Linked DNA regions of Homo sapiens: region 1 is linked to region 2. Evidence: promoter capture Hi-C in 16 types of primary human blood cells and fetal thymus (Javierre and others, 2016). All regions are on one chromosome and are shown on one strand. The core of a region is centred on a gene start or on the middle of the fragment in contact, and the rest is flanking DNA. Distances in the headings are between cores, read along the strand shown.

The links. Contacts are between HindIII fragments. The CHiCAGO score rates a contact against its expected background, and 5 or more counts as called.
Region 1: a contact is called between a fragment that was not itself captured here and the fragment with the promoter of PRMT6 in region 2, in 1 of 17 cell types (total B cells). The highest score is 6.6, in total B cells.

What each region holds. Positions count from the first base shown.
Region 1 is chr1:104,752,595-104,759,033 of GRCh38, forward strand. No RefSeq gene overlaps it. Among named protein-coding and RNA genes, the nearest start is that of LINC01676, 860 kb to the right of the region's middle. The HindIII fragment of the contact is 7,329 bases long and covers 1-6,439 here.
Region 2 is chr1:107,055,305-107,061,160 of GRCh38, forward strand. PRMT6 (protein arginine methyltransferase 6) reads left to right here and starts at 1,370. Exons shown (of 1, transcript NM_018137.3): 1 at 1,370-3,990. The coding sequence starts at 1,412. The coding sequence ends at 2,539. RefSeq lists enhancers at 1,602-1,651, 1,672-1,811, 1,822-1,951, 1,962-2,171. The HindIII fragment of the contact is 2,330 bases long and covers 1-1,433 here.

The DNA of each region.
Region 1 (6,439 bases), core at 2,133-4,632, 2.3 Mb before region 2:
GTATGAATATGTTTATAGAAATGTTTGTTTCAATATTTTATATTTTAGATTGGTTGTATAGGTAAGTGGGGATATTACTTATGTCTTACTTTGTAATTCACCACATTCCAGGAGCCATATCTGGACTGGAATGGCTATTTTTCAGTCACTGAGCTGCATGTAGTAACTGTCGGTGACTCTGGAATTGTCTCTTTTAGGTCAATAAATGGTGATTGCAGCATCCTTGTTTAATTTTCAATTTTATATGGAAAGTTTTCAATAATTCATTAACTATGATTAATCTTATAGTTTTTTAATAAATAATCTCATCGAAAGTTAAAAACTAAACTTCTATTTCCTGTTTGTTGAAATTTCTTAAAGAACAGAAGTTAAATTTTTTTGTTTATCTTGCATCTATTTCAATGATTGGATAATTTTCCCTACTTTATTCTGTTAAAGTGATTAAATGCCTTCATTGATACTTGGATACTAAAATAATCTTATAATTTTGGAATAGTTCCAACTTGGAATGGTATAGTGATTTTTATGTATTGCTAGATTTAATTTGCTGATTTTATGTTTAGGATTATTTTTTGTTTTTGAAGGAAACCAGCCTATTTCTTTCTTCTTATAATATGCCTGTCAATTTTTGTGCCAAGGTTATTCTTTTTTTATAAAATAAGTATCATAGTGCCCACTTTTTTTCTTCTCCCTGGGAGGATTTTTGTTGGATTGGTGTTTTATCTTATTTTGATGTTTGAACTTTCATTGTTTCTGTTAAAGCTGCCTGATTCTGGAATTTTCTTTGTGTTAAGGATTTTAATTAGAAATTTGCTTTTTGGTAAACATGGTCTTCATATTTTGTGTGCATATTAGTTATGGTAGACAAAGTTTTAAGAGTTTGTTCTACCCACATTTCAAATGTATTATCATATTTTTTTCATAATGTATACTTCATTATTTATTTATATATTTAGAGACAGAGTCTCACTCTCATCACCCAAGCTGGAGTTCACTGGCACAATCATGGCTCACTGCAGCCTTGACTTCCCAGACTCAAGTGATTCTCCCACCCCAGACTTCTGAGTCGCTGGGACTACGGGCACATGCCACAATGTCTGGCTAATTTTTTGTGTTTTTAGTGGAGATAGGGTCTCAACATGTTGCTCAGGCTGGTCTCGAACTTCTAGGCTCAAGCAATCCACCCACTGCAGGCTTTCAAAATGCTGGGATTACAGGCGTGAGCCACCGCACCCAGACTAATTTGTTTTTAAAAAGTAGAATCTTTATTGACAGTCTTTGTGTAACACTGATAATTATTATTTGTACCATCCCTCATGTGTCTTGATCTAGGTTATTGGGAGCTGATACAATTCTTTCTTAGTTTTTACAAAGAACCAACTATTTTGGCTTTAATTGCTCTCTCTGTAGTTGTTTGATTTTATTTTACTAATTTCTGTTTTTAGTTTTATTATGTCACATCTTCAACAAAGTTGGGCTTAATTTGTTATTACTTTATTTTAATAGATGATTTTATCATCAATTTTTCAGCCTCCCTTTCTCCTATAGCCATTTAATGAAAAAAGAAATCGCCCCCAAATATTTTTACATATAGTTCACAGGATTTATCATATATTAATTATATATTTCATTTTAAAATATGTTCAAAATTTTTGATTACTTCTAAGGCTTATAGGTTACTTAGATTTTTATTGTTATCTACACACATAAAGATTACTAAATTTGCTTTAAAAATTGATTTCTATCCATTTTGTTTTTATAGCATATAGTAATCCCTGCAATTTACTGTCCTTTTTTAAATGCTCTAATTGCATTTGAAAAAACTAGATATTCTCCAGGTGTTGGGTGCAATGTTGTAAATATGTCCATCTAGTCAGGTAATCCTGTTATTCAAATCTTCTGTCATTGCTGATTTGTTTTTGTATGTTCTATCAGTTACTGTAAGGTAAATTAAAATATCCCACTGTGATAACTGACTTGTTCCCTCTTACATCATCTTTTGCTCTGACATTTGTAGAACTGGTATATATGTGTGGCAGGTTCGTCTATTATAATACAATATTCATATTTTATTTCTACCAATGCTGTTTTCTTTAAATTGTTCTTCATTTAGTAATAGCATAGCTACACCACCATTTCTTGGCTAATTTTTTCACATATTTCTGTTTTCATTCATAGAATTTCAACTTGACATTTGAAGGGTGTCACTTCTTAGCTACAAGTTTCATTTTCTTATCCACTTAGCAGTAATATTAGTTGAAACATTAAGCCACTTTTTATTTAATATAATTATTTCTCAATTTGGATTTAAATCTACTATCTTACTATGCACCATTCAGCCACTTTTTACTTAATATAACTATTTCTCAATTTGGATTTAAATCTACTATCTCACTAGTTGTTTTTACTTTCTCAAACTATTTTATATACTTTTTTCTCTCTTTCACCCTCTTCCTTTGCATTTTGAAACAGTTGTTTATGGAATTATCCTGTTTCCAGTGAAGTAAATATTCTTCAAATATTCTGTAGTTTTATTCTACAGAATACAACATGCAACCCTAATCTGTTAACATCTAAAACAAAGAAATATTTTTTGTTTTTCATATAAAGCAAGGGCACTAGAAAACTTGAAATTTCATTCACACTCTGCTGCCACATTATGAGTTATTGTTTTTATGTTGTTTAATTCTATTTATGTTGTATACCACATAAAACATTACTACTATAGTTGTGTTATATAGTCACTATTTACTTACGTTTACCAACATATTTTTCTTTTGATGTCCAGTCAGGTATTTTTCATTATGTACTAGGTCATTTTTCACTGTGTACTAAGCACTGTGTGAAAAAATATATAGAAATAATTTTGGTTATCTCTAGCAAGTACTGAAGCCCACCTTTAATTAATATAAATTGAAGATCAAAATATATTGTCTTTTTGCCAAGGCTAGCTTTCTGCCACCAAAATGAATGAATTAAATAGTGCATAAATTCTCTAAGGATAAATATAACATCACAACCTATGACAATAGAAGGACACTCAAGGAAATCCCAGATATTACATTTTTGGCATTATCAGGCACAAAGTTTAAAATATGAGTAATAATATCAGGTAATAAATGGTAAAATGGAGATTTCTGCCAAAAACTAGAATTTAAAAAATAAACTGAAATTCCGTAATTAAAAAAAAATAATTTGAAACATGCAGTCAAAGGTAGGTTTAACAGCAAACTATGAAAAGGGACACATACTTAGTATGCTTCTTCATATCTTGCTGGCAATGCATATCATATTTTATGGTCTCTCATTAACCAACTTATCTAATATTGAGATAATATAAAATAAATTTTCCACATTCCAGTTGAGCCTCAAGAACGACAGAGCTCTACATTAGTTCCTGGCTGCAATGAATGTTCTACCTTTGGGCTCTATAATTTCAGCATGCTGAATACTACTGTGAGTTTCTCTAGTAGACAGAAATACTGTATGGGCTTTTGGAAATTCCCAATGAGAAAATAATAGTACAAACATGAAAAATCAAAGTTACGGCATCTGCTGTTCTCCATTTAAAAAGCAGATCCTGGTTTGTGATTGGTTTTGGTTGAAACTTTATGCCTGTCACAATACTCTAGGTGATAAAGTAACCTGAATTGCCAGTTATGATCAGTCTGTTCTCCGATCTACAGTCAATTCAGGTAGAGAATTTTTTTAATATAGAAGTATTATATATGAACCTTCGCTCAATGATTTGGAACACCTGAAGAAACTGCACAGACAGGTGACTCACTCTCAAGAAAACCCCTTCCATTGTTTTCCCATTTCTTTTTCAACTCACATCTCTGCCTTCATGTAGCATTCCCAATGATCAGTTCATGGAAGGAGAAATAGTTCAGTTTACTTAATGGATGGATCTAGACAGAGTGTTTGTTACCTTGGCCCAGAAAACATAATGAAGATAAATTATATTTTCAGATTGGAACTTTGGGTGATATATCTGATTGTTCATTTGTTGGAGAAAGACAGATGTCTGTAGTAAGAATCTACATTGATTCTTGTGAAGTTTTCTCATGTGTTGTCCAGCTGGTCAGAACTTGGATAAAATAAAATCAGAAAATTAGTTACGCTGTCTACAAGGGAGAGTTATGTAGATGGACTCCTCTGAATGTTCTCAGAGTGAAATATATTATTGTACTGTATAAAAACTACCAGAAGATTTGTATTGCAAAGCAAGCTATCAAAAATTTGAGAGACAGGGCGTGGTGTCTGACCCCCGTAATCCCAGCACTTTGGGAGGCCGAGGTGTGGGGATTGCTTAAACCTGGCAAAAACCCCCGTACCGGCTAAAAAAAAAAAAATTAGCCAAGCGTGGTGATATGTGCCTGTTGTCACAGCTACTCAGAAGCCTGAGGTGGAAATATAGCTTGATCAAGCCTGAGAGGTCCAGACTGCAGTGAGCCATAATTGCGTGGCCACTGCACTTCAGCCTGGGCGACAGCCTGTCTGAAAATTAATAATTGTAAAAATCAAAAAATATATATATTAGTTGGGAATGCAATCTGTAGCTGCACTACACTCTTTCTCCACAGTTTCCCAGTGCTTAACAGTGTTGTTCACAAAATACTAATGATCACAAGCATAAAAGGTATCTATTTAATCATTAGTATGGTTTTTTCCTCTGCACAGCTGTTATAGCATCTAGCACTGCTGAAGACTCAATCTTCACACAACTGACTCTAATGCTGAATTCCTGATTATGACACCACTGCCTGGGGAAAGTGTCTCACCACAACAAAGTAGGGGAAAGGATGGAGATTAGGAGATTTACCAACACCTCTTTTCTCATTTGCTCAACATTCCTGGTCAATGCAAAACTTCAGCAACCCAATGCATAATCGACCATCATACTTGTATTAATTTCCTACACGAATGTGTATTTGGGTCACTCATCATGTTTGGAGTTAGGTTCAGCTGAATGCCTGGCAGAGGATAGGGAATCTTGTAAAACTATCAAGCAATGATTACCTGCTTAGGCTATAGAAACTGCTATGGACACAGGAACAATGATAGTTCTGTTACTTGTTTTGTCCCCTGCCCCTAATACTTTTTCTCTAGTGAAAAATCAGTTGTGATGGCTAACATTTCAAGTTCACATGAAGAATGATGACACATTGACAACATCTTATGATAGCAGAAGAGCTTTTGGGACATGTGGTTCCTCGTTTGGACAAATTATCTTTAGTTAGATAATAGATGAGACCAGTGCTGTGGACCAAAAGGAACAGAACATGTGGGAAATCTTTACTCTTTTTTCTCCATATCCACACTCCACCCTTTACCATTCCTCTACTTATTATGGTTGATGAATATGGCTCCTTGCGATTCTGCTGCTTCTGTTTTCTTGTGGGGGGGGAGGGGGGAGATGGGGGATGGGGGATGGGGAAGAGGGGGATGGGGGAGGTGGGGTATGGGGAAGGAGGGGGATGGGGAGGGGGGATGGGGGAGGGGGTGGGGAGGCAGGGGGTGGGGGGATGGGGGTGGGGGGATGAGACGGGGAGGCAGGCGGGATGGGGGATGGAGGTGGGGGGATAGGGGGACAGGGAGATGGGGTATGGGGGACAGCGTGGGGGTATGGGGAAGAGGGGGGGTGGGGGGGAATGGGGGGAGGAGGGGAGGGGGGTGTGTGTGCAGGGGGAGGTCTGCAGTCTGGAATCTGGGTAGGAAATTGAATAAAGGGAGTAAAATGTGGCCAATGGCTTTTCCCTGACTCCTTCTCAGCAGGGGCACCTTAGGCTTGCTGGATTCCTCAACTAAAGAAAAGAGATTCATGTTAAACATTGTCTCCATCTACTACTCTACTTCTCCTTGGCCTTCAGAACTGGTGTGCTAATAATCCCAGGGCTAGTAGCCCTGGGGGATTATATTACCTCCTAAGATTTTCCTTTTGTAAATCATTATGTCCGTTCCATAAAAATTTCCCAATATGAGCAGTCCATGTAGTAGAAAGATCTGTTCTTTTTTTATTAAAATTTCTAAGTTATTGTCATTTTCTTTTGTAGATAGTGTTGTGCGTATTTAAGGTGTTCAACATGATTTTTTACAAATTATATGCAGATAGTAAAAGGGTTACTACAGTAAAGCAAATTAATGTATGCATTATCTCAAATAGTTACCCATTTTATGTTTTTTTGTGTGTGTGGAAACAACAGATTTCCACAAAATCTACTCATATAGCAGGAATCTCATATACATTACAATTTTATTACTTAGACTCCTTGTATTGTACCTTAGGTCTCTAATCTTGTTCATCCTACATATCTGCTACTTTTTATCCTCTGACCGACACTTCCCCATTTGCTACAGTCCCACCCCAATCCTGCCCAGGTAGCCACTGTTCTTTTCTCTATGTTTGTATATTTGATTTATGTTTCAGATTCCACAT
Region 2 (5,856 bases), core at 120-2,619:
GACTTTTTTTTCAAGCTGGCAGAAAATGGCATTATGCCCACCTTGTTAATAACACGGACACCCATACAGATGCCACACATATTTAAAAACATATTTTATTTCCATTATGGACAACAAAAAGAGAGTAACAGCTGATGGTTGACTACAAGAAAAATATAAGAGAAAGAGGAGAGTGTCAATATTGCCCGGACAAGAAAACACAGGAAAAAATGAATTGCATTGAGAAAGTGATTAAAAGAAATTGATTCCGTTATTTCTGAGAGAAAAAAACGCATATATATATAGAATACACCTAGCAACGAGTTTGCTTGTATCACATGGCTCTTGAGTCTGCACTTTTCAGGATTTAACTCTTAAGAGAGCCACAGAATTATCAGAGCAGAGCCGAAAGCCAAGTAACTATTCTTCTAAGTAGAACCAGAAACCTAGTTCTTCCCCAACTGCAATGAAGATTCGCTGGTGGGTGAATGGGCAACTAAAGGCCAGAGAAGTTCTATTATTTGCCCTAAATCACTCAACTAATTAGTGGTCATACTGGAATCAGAACCAAGATTTTGCATTGTTAGGTTTTAATTTTGTTACATTTGCACTCTAACTGCACTGAAAACAGAAAAAAGAAATGCGTAGTGCAGTTTCTAAATTGCCACAGCTGGAGCACTTTAAGAGCTACAATTGTCCAGTTAAGGCGGTAGTGGGTGGATGGTGCTGCCATGTTAATTCGGTGGAATAAAACCAGAGGTGAGTTAGGCCGGGCGCGGTGGCTCACGCTTGTAATCCCAGCACTTTGGGAGGCCGAGGTGGGCGGATCACCTGAGGTCGCGAGTTTGAGACCAGCCTGACCAACAGGGAGAAACCCCGTCTACCAAAAATACAAAATTAGCCGGCCCTGGTGGCATGCGCCCGTAATCCCAGCAACTCGGGAGGCTGAGGCAGGAGAATCGCTTGAACCCAGGAGGCGGAGGTTGCGGTGAGCGGAGATCGCGCCATTGCACTCCAGCCTGGGAAACAAGAGCGAAACTCCCTCTCAAAAAAAACAAAAAACAGAAAAACAAACAAAAAAAACAGAGGTGAGTTCAGCAGAAGAAACAAAGGTGGATTATTAGTCTTAAGTGTGCGTGCCTACTTCAGGAAGGGAGTGAAAGCAAAAAACTGAGGAGCTAAGGGTGGGAGGGGGAATGAAAGGATCTCAGAATGTGGGCGTCGTGGGTGGGAAAAGGGATGCCAGGACACCAGAAGAGCAATACAAAACAGCTCCCGTGAGCAGGCACAGGAGACCTTCCGCGCCGCCGGCCGGGCGACCCCGCAGGAAGTAGGAAGGACGAGCGCGCACTACAAGTCCCAGAAGCCCCCGTTTCCTGGAGCCCGCGCCGTGCCGCGCTACGCCCGCCGGGAGCCGGGCAGAGCGGCCAAGATGTCGCAGCCCAAGAAAAGAAAGCTTGAGTCGGGGGGCGGCGGCGAAGGAGGGGAGGGAACTGAAGAGGAAGATGGCGCGGAGCGGGAGGCGGCCCTGGAGCGACCCCGGAGGACTAAGCGGGAACGGGACCAGCTGTACTACGAGTGCTACTCGGACGTTTCGGTCCACGAGGAGATGATCGCGGACCGCGTCCGCACCGATGCCTACCGCCTGGGTATCCTTCGGAACTGGGCAGCACTGCGAGGCAAGACGGTACTGGACGTGGGCGCGGGCACCGGCATTCTGAGCATCTTCTGTGCCCAGGCCGGGGCCCGGCGCGTGTACGCGGTAGAGGCCAGCGCCATCTGGCAACAGGCCCGGGAGGTGGTGCGGTTCAACGGGCTGGAGGACCGGGTGCACGTCCTGCCGGGACCAGTGGAGACTGTAGAGTTGCCGGAACAGGTGGATGCCATCGTGAGCGAGTGGATGGGCTACGGACTCCTGCACGAGTCCATGCTGAGCTCCGTCCTCCACGCGCGAACCAAGTGGCTGAAGGAGGGCGGTCTTCTCCTGCCGGCCTCCGCCGAGCTCTTCATAGCCCCCATCAGCGACCAGATGCTGGAATGGCGCCTGGGCTTCTGGAGCCAGGTGAAGCAGCACTATGGTGTGGACATGAGCTGCCTGGAGGGCTTCGCCACGCGCTGTCTCATGGGCCACTCGGAGATCGTTGTGCAGGGATTGTCCGGCGAGGACGTGCTGGCCCGGCCGCAGCGCTTTGCTCAGCTAGAGCTCTCCCGCGCCGGCTTGGAGCAGGAGCTGGAGGCCGGAGTGGGCGGGCGCTTCCGCTGCAGCTGCTATGGCTCGGCGCCCATGCATGGCTTTGCCATCTGGTTCCAGGTGACCTTCCCTGGAGGGGAGTCGGAGAAACCCCTGGTGCTGTCCACCTCGCCTTTTCACCCGGCCACTCACTGGAAACAGGCGCTCCTCTACCTGAACGAGCCGGTGCAAGTGGAGCAAGACACGGACGTTTCAGGAGAGATCACGCTGCTGCCCTCCCGGGACAACCCCCGTCGCCTGCGCGTGCTGCTGCGCTACAAAGTGGGAGACCAGGAGGAGAAGACCAAAGACTTTGCCATGGAGGACTGAGCGTTGCCTTTTCTCCCAGCTACCTCCCAAAGCAGCCTGACCTGCGTGGGAGAGGCGTAGCGAGGTCGGAGGGGAAAGGGAGATCCCACGTGCAAGTAGGGGGAATATCTCCCCCTTTTCCCTCATAGCCTCTAGGGAGGGAGAGTGACTTCATTCTCCATTTGAAGAGATTCTTCTGGTGATGTTTACTTAAAAAGTGATCCCCCTCAACAACGGATACAGCGTGCTTATTATTGGGCATTTAGCCTCAAAAGCATGTAGTACCAAGCACTTGTATTTCCGTATATTTTGTTTCGCGGGGGAGTGAGGGGGAAGAACACGGATGAAAATGTCAGTTTTTGAAGGGTCCATGCACATCCCTGACACCTCACACCTTATCTAAGTCTGAAGCTGGGGAGAAAGGGGTTCATTTAGACTTCATACATTTCCAGTACGACTTTAGTATCTCTCCAGAGCCATATTTTCTCAGTCCGAATTAATTCCCCCTCCCTAGGTGCCTGTAGGCTATGGTACTTCTTCCTCATTGTTTTCTAGGTAAACTTCACTACTGGTAATTAAGGGGAAGGATATGAGGAAGCAGTTTAAATAGCCCTGTTCTCATTACTCTGACCACATACATCATAGGGTGCTAAAGTTGATGAACACATTAATCCGTTAAGTAAAATGGACTTTGTAATTGTACAGCATACCTAAGAAACTCAGAAGGTGCATTTAAGAGAGAGACCTGAAAGAAATAGTATGGATTTTTAAAAATTCTTGTCTCTACTATTATAACCAAAAAATATTTCTTGTATGTCCCATAAAAATATTTGTGTAATTCTTATGAAACAGGCTGGTAGAGGAGGTTTCTGAGCCTAGCCCAAGGGCTTATTCATCACCATGGGTAAATTATTTAAACTCACTTAATTAAGGAAAATATTTTCCCAGCTAGAAAAGTATACTCATTCTCATTTAAACTCTCTCATTTGGAGGGATCATGTGAGTTGGCCTACTTACAAGTAGTGAAAGTTCCCTTTTCAGTTTTGTTTTGTTTTGTTTTGTTTTTCTCTTTCACTCAGCCAAATGTGAAAGTTGTGAATTTAGGAAAATCACTTGTAATGAAGTGTGAATCTTGTTATCAAATTTATTTCTCTGATGTTTCCTTCCTTATCCTTGTAGCCAATAAAACATTGACATTCTCACGTTTTATAGATGAGGTAAAAAGTCTTGTGTGCTGTGAGTTATAATGCTTTTGCCTTTTTAATATTATTAGTTCTTAAGTGTTACAGCCCCTTCAGAATATAACTTCAGGACAATTCAAACTATGCTTAATGTATGATTTTCGAGCTTCTGTATGCTAAGAAAATAGGTGTGAAAAACTGGTGTTCTGAAATAGCCTAACATTTATTGTAATTCTGAATTTTCTGCCCTTTTATTCATTGCATATTAAAGTATTAGAGTATAAAAACTAATTTGCTAAACTTTGGTTGTATATAACACAGATCTTCCATCATGGAGAGATATACATGTACAAAATTATCAATTTACAAGATAATTGAGTAGCAAGCAGTACAGTTGTAACCGTCACCATTTTGATGCTAAGATAGTGATCATCTCATGTAAATGCTACAGTCACAGCAAGCTAGACTTAAGCTAGAGGGAAAATAGAGCTCCTTATAAGGTGTTCTATGTTTTAAATCAAATATTTATTTAGAGTTTGAGTGTGTGATTTTGAGTAGGTTTCTGGTGGTTTGGTTTGTTTTTTAAAAAAAACTTGATTTAACAATTCCTTTACTAAGTGATAAATGAGAATATTCTTCCAAATTCTATTTTTTATATATTTGATAAATACTATAGAGTTATCATTATCAGTATAAGCACATAAAGGGAACCTCAGTTAAAACTTGGAGGAACTATAGAAGTAAAGGGTATGTATTCCATAGTTAAAGTAAGCTTCAGGATTTTTATTACTCCTTCCCAGAAGAAAAATGAATTATAAAAATACAGCGACTGAAGCAATTAGTCAAGAGTTAGCATAACATAATGGCTACAAAATTGGACTCTGGAGCCAGACAGCCCATAGTAGAACCTAGGCTCCACCACTCTTTGTGACCTTGGGCAAAATATTAAACACCTTTTTTTCCTTCAAAATGGAGGAAATTCCTCTCGTATGCAAAATGGAGATAACAATAGTACCTATGTCATAGATGTGAGAATAGAATGAGTTAATACATGTGACTACATAATGTCTGGTATGTAATAAGATCTCAATAAAGCCTCAGTGTGGTAGTTAGGGAAAAGTCAAACCTGGAGCACTTGGATGCATGCAAAATGTGTGACAGAATAAATATTCAACATTTTGATTTTTTTTACAGGTATTCAACAGTATGTGGTTGTACGTGAGGAGCAATGTATGACACTGTACACCAAATGATCCAAAGGGAATTCAAGACCTCTGGAGTGAGGACACCTCCAGAAGGATGAAGGTGTAAGATGTATCAACATCCAGGCACTGTCCAATCTGTCTGTATGGACTGGTACTGACTGCTTGGTGCCATTGGACCACAGGCAGGAACTACCAGGCCCAAAGGAGAGGAAAACATGGTAAAGTTCAACCTGCTTCCCTCAAACAACTTACATTTATTTTGCGCTGTGAAAGTTTACAAATATTTTCATTAATTCATTGGACCAATGGACATTTTATTGAGTATACAATGCAACAGTCATTGTGATAAGCATTTAGGATACAAACCAACAAAACACAGTTTCTTCCTTCAAATGATATGTTCATAAGATAAAATGGTAAGTACAATAAATGATAATGGGCTAAAGACTGGGATGGTCTTGGTGTTAGAAAGGGCAAGTAATTAACTCAATTTACATACCAGGAACAAGAGTTATACAGATATTGAAGGACTTGGCCTAAGTTTACATAGCTAATTCTTGGCTTTTAATTCCTAACTCCAAACAAAAATTCACATGTTTATTATATTAATCTTGCCTGCTTCAATTAAAAACAGAAGTGGGCACGGTGGCTCACGCCTGTAATCCCAGCACTTTGGGAGGCCGAGGCGGGCGGATCACCAGGTCAGGAGATCAAGACCATCCTGGCTAACACGGTGAAACCCCGTCTCTACTAAAAATACAAAAAATTAGCCGGGCATGGTGGCGGGTGCCTGTAGTCCCAGCAACTCGGGAGGCTGAGGCAGGAGAATGGCGTGAACCTGGGAGGCCGAGCTTGCAGTGAGCCAAGATAGTGCCATTGCACTCTAGCCTGGGTGACAGAGCAAGACTCTGTCTCAAAAAAATAAAAAAAAATAAAACACAGAAGTACGTAC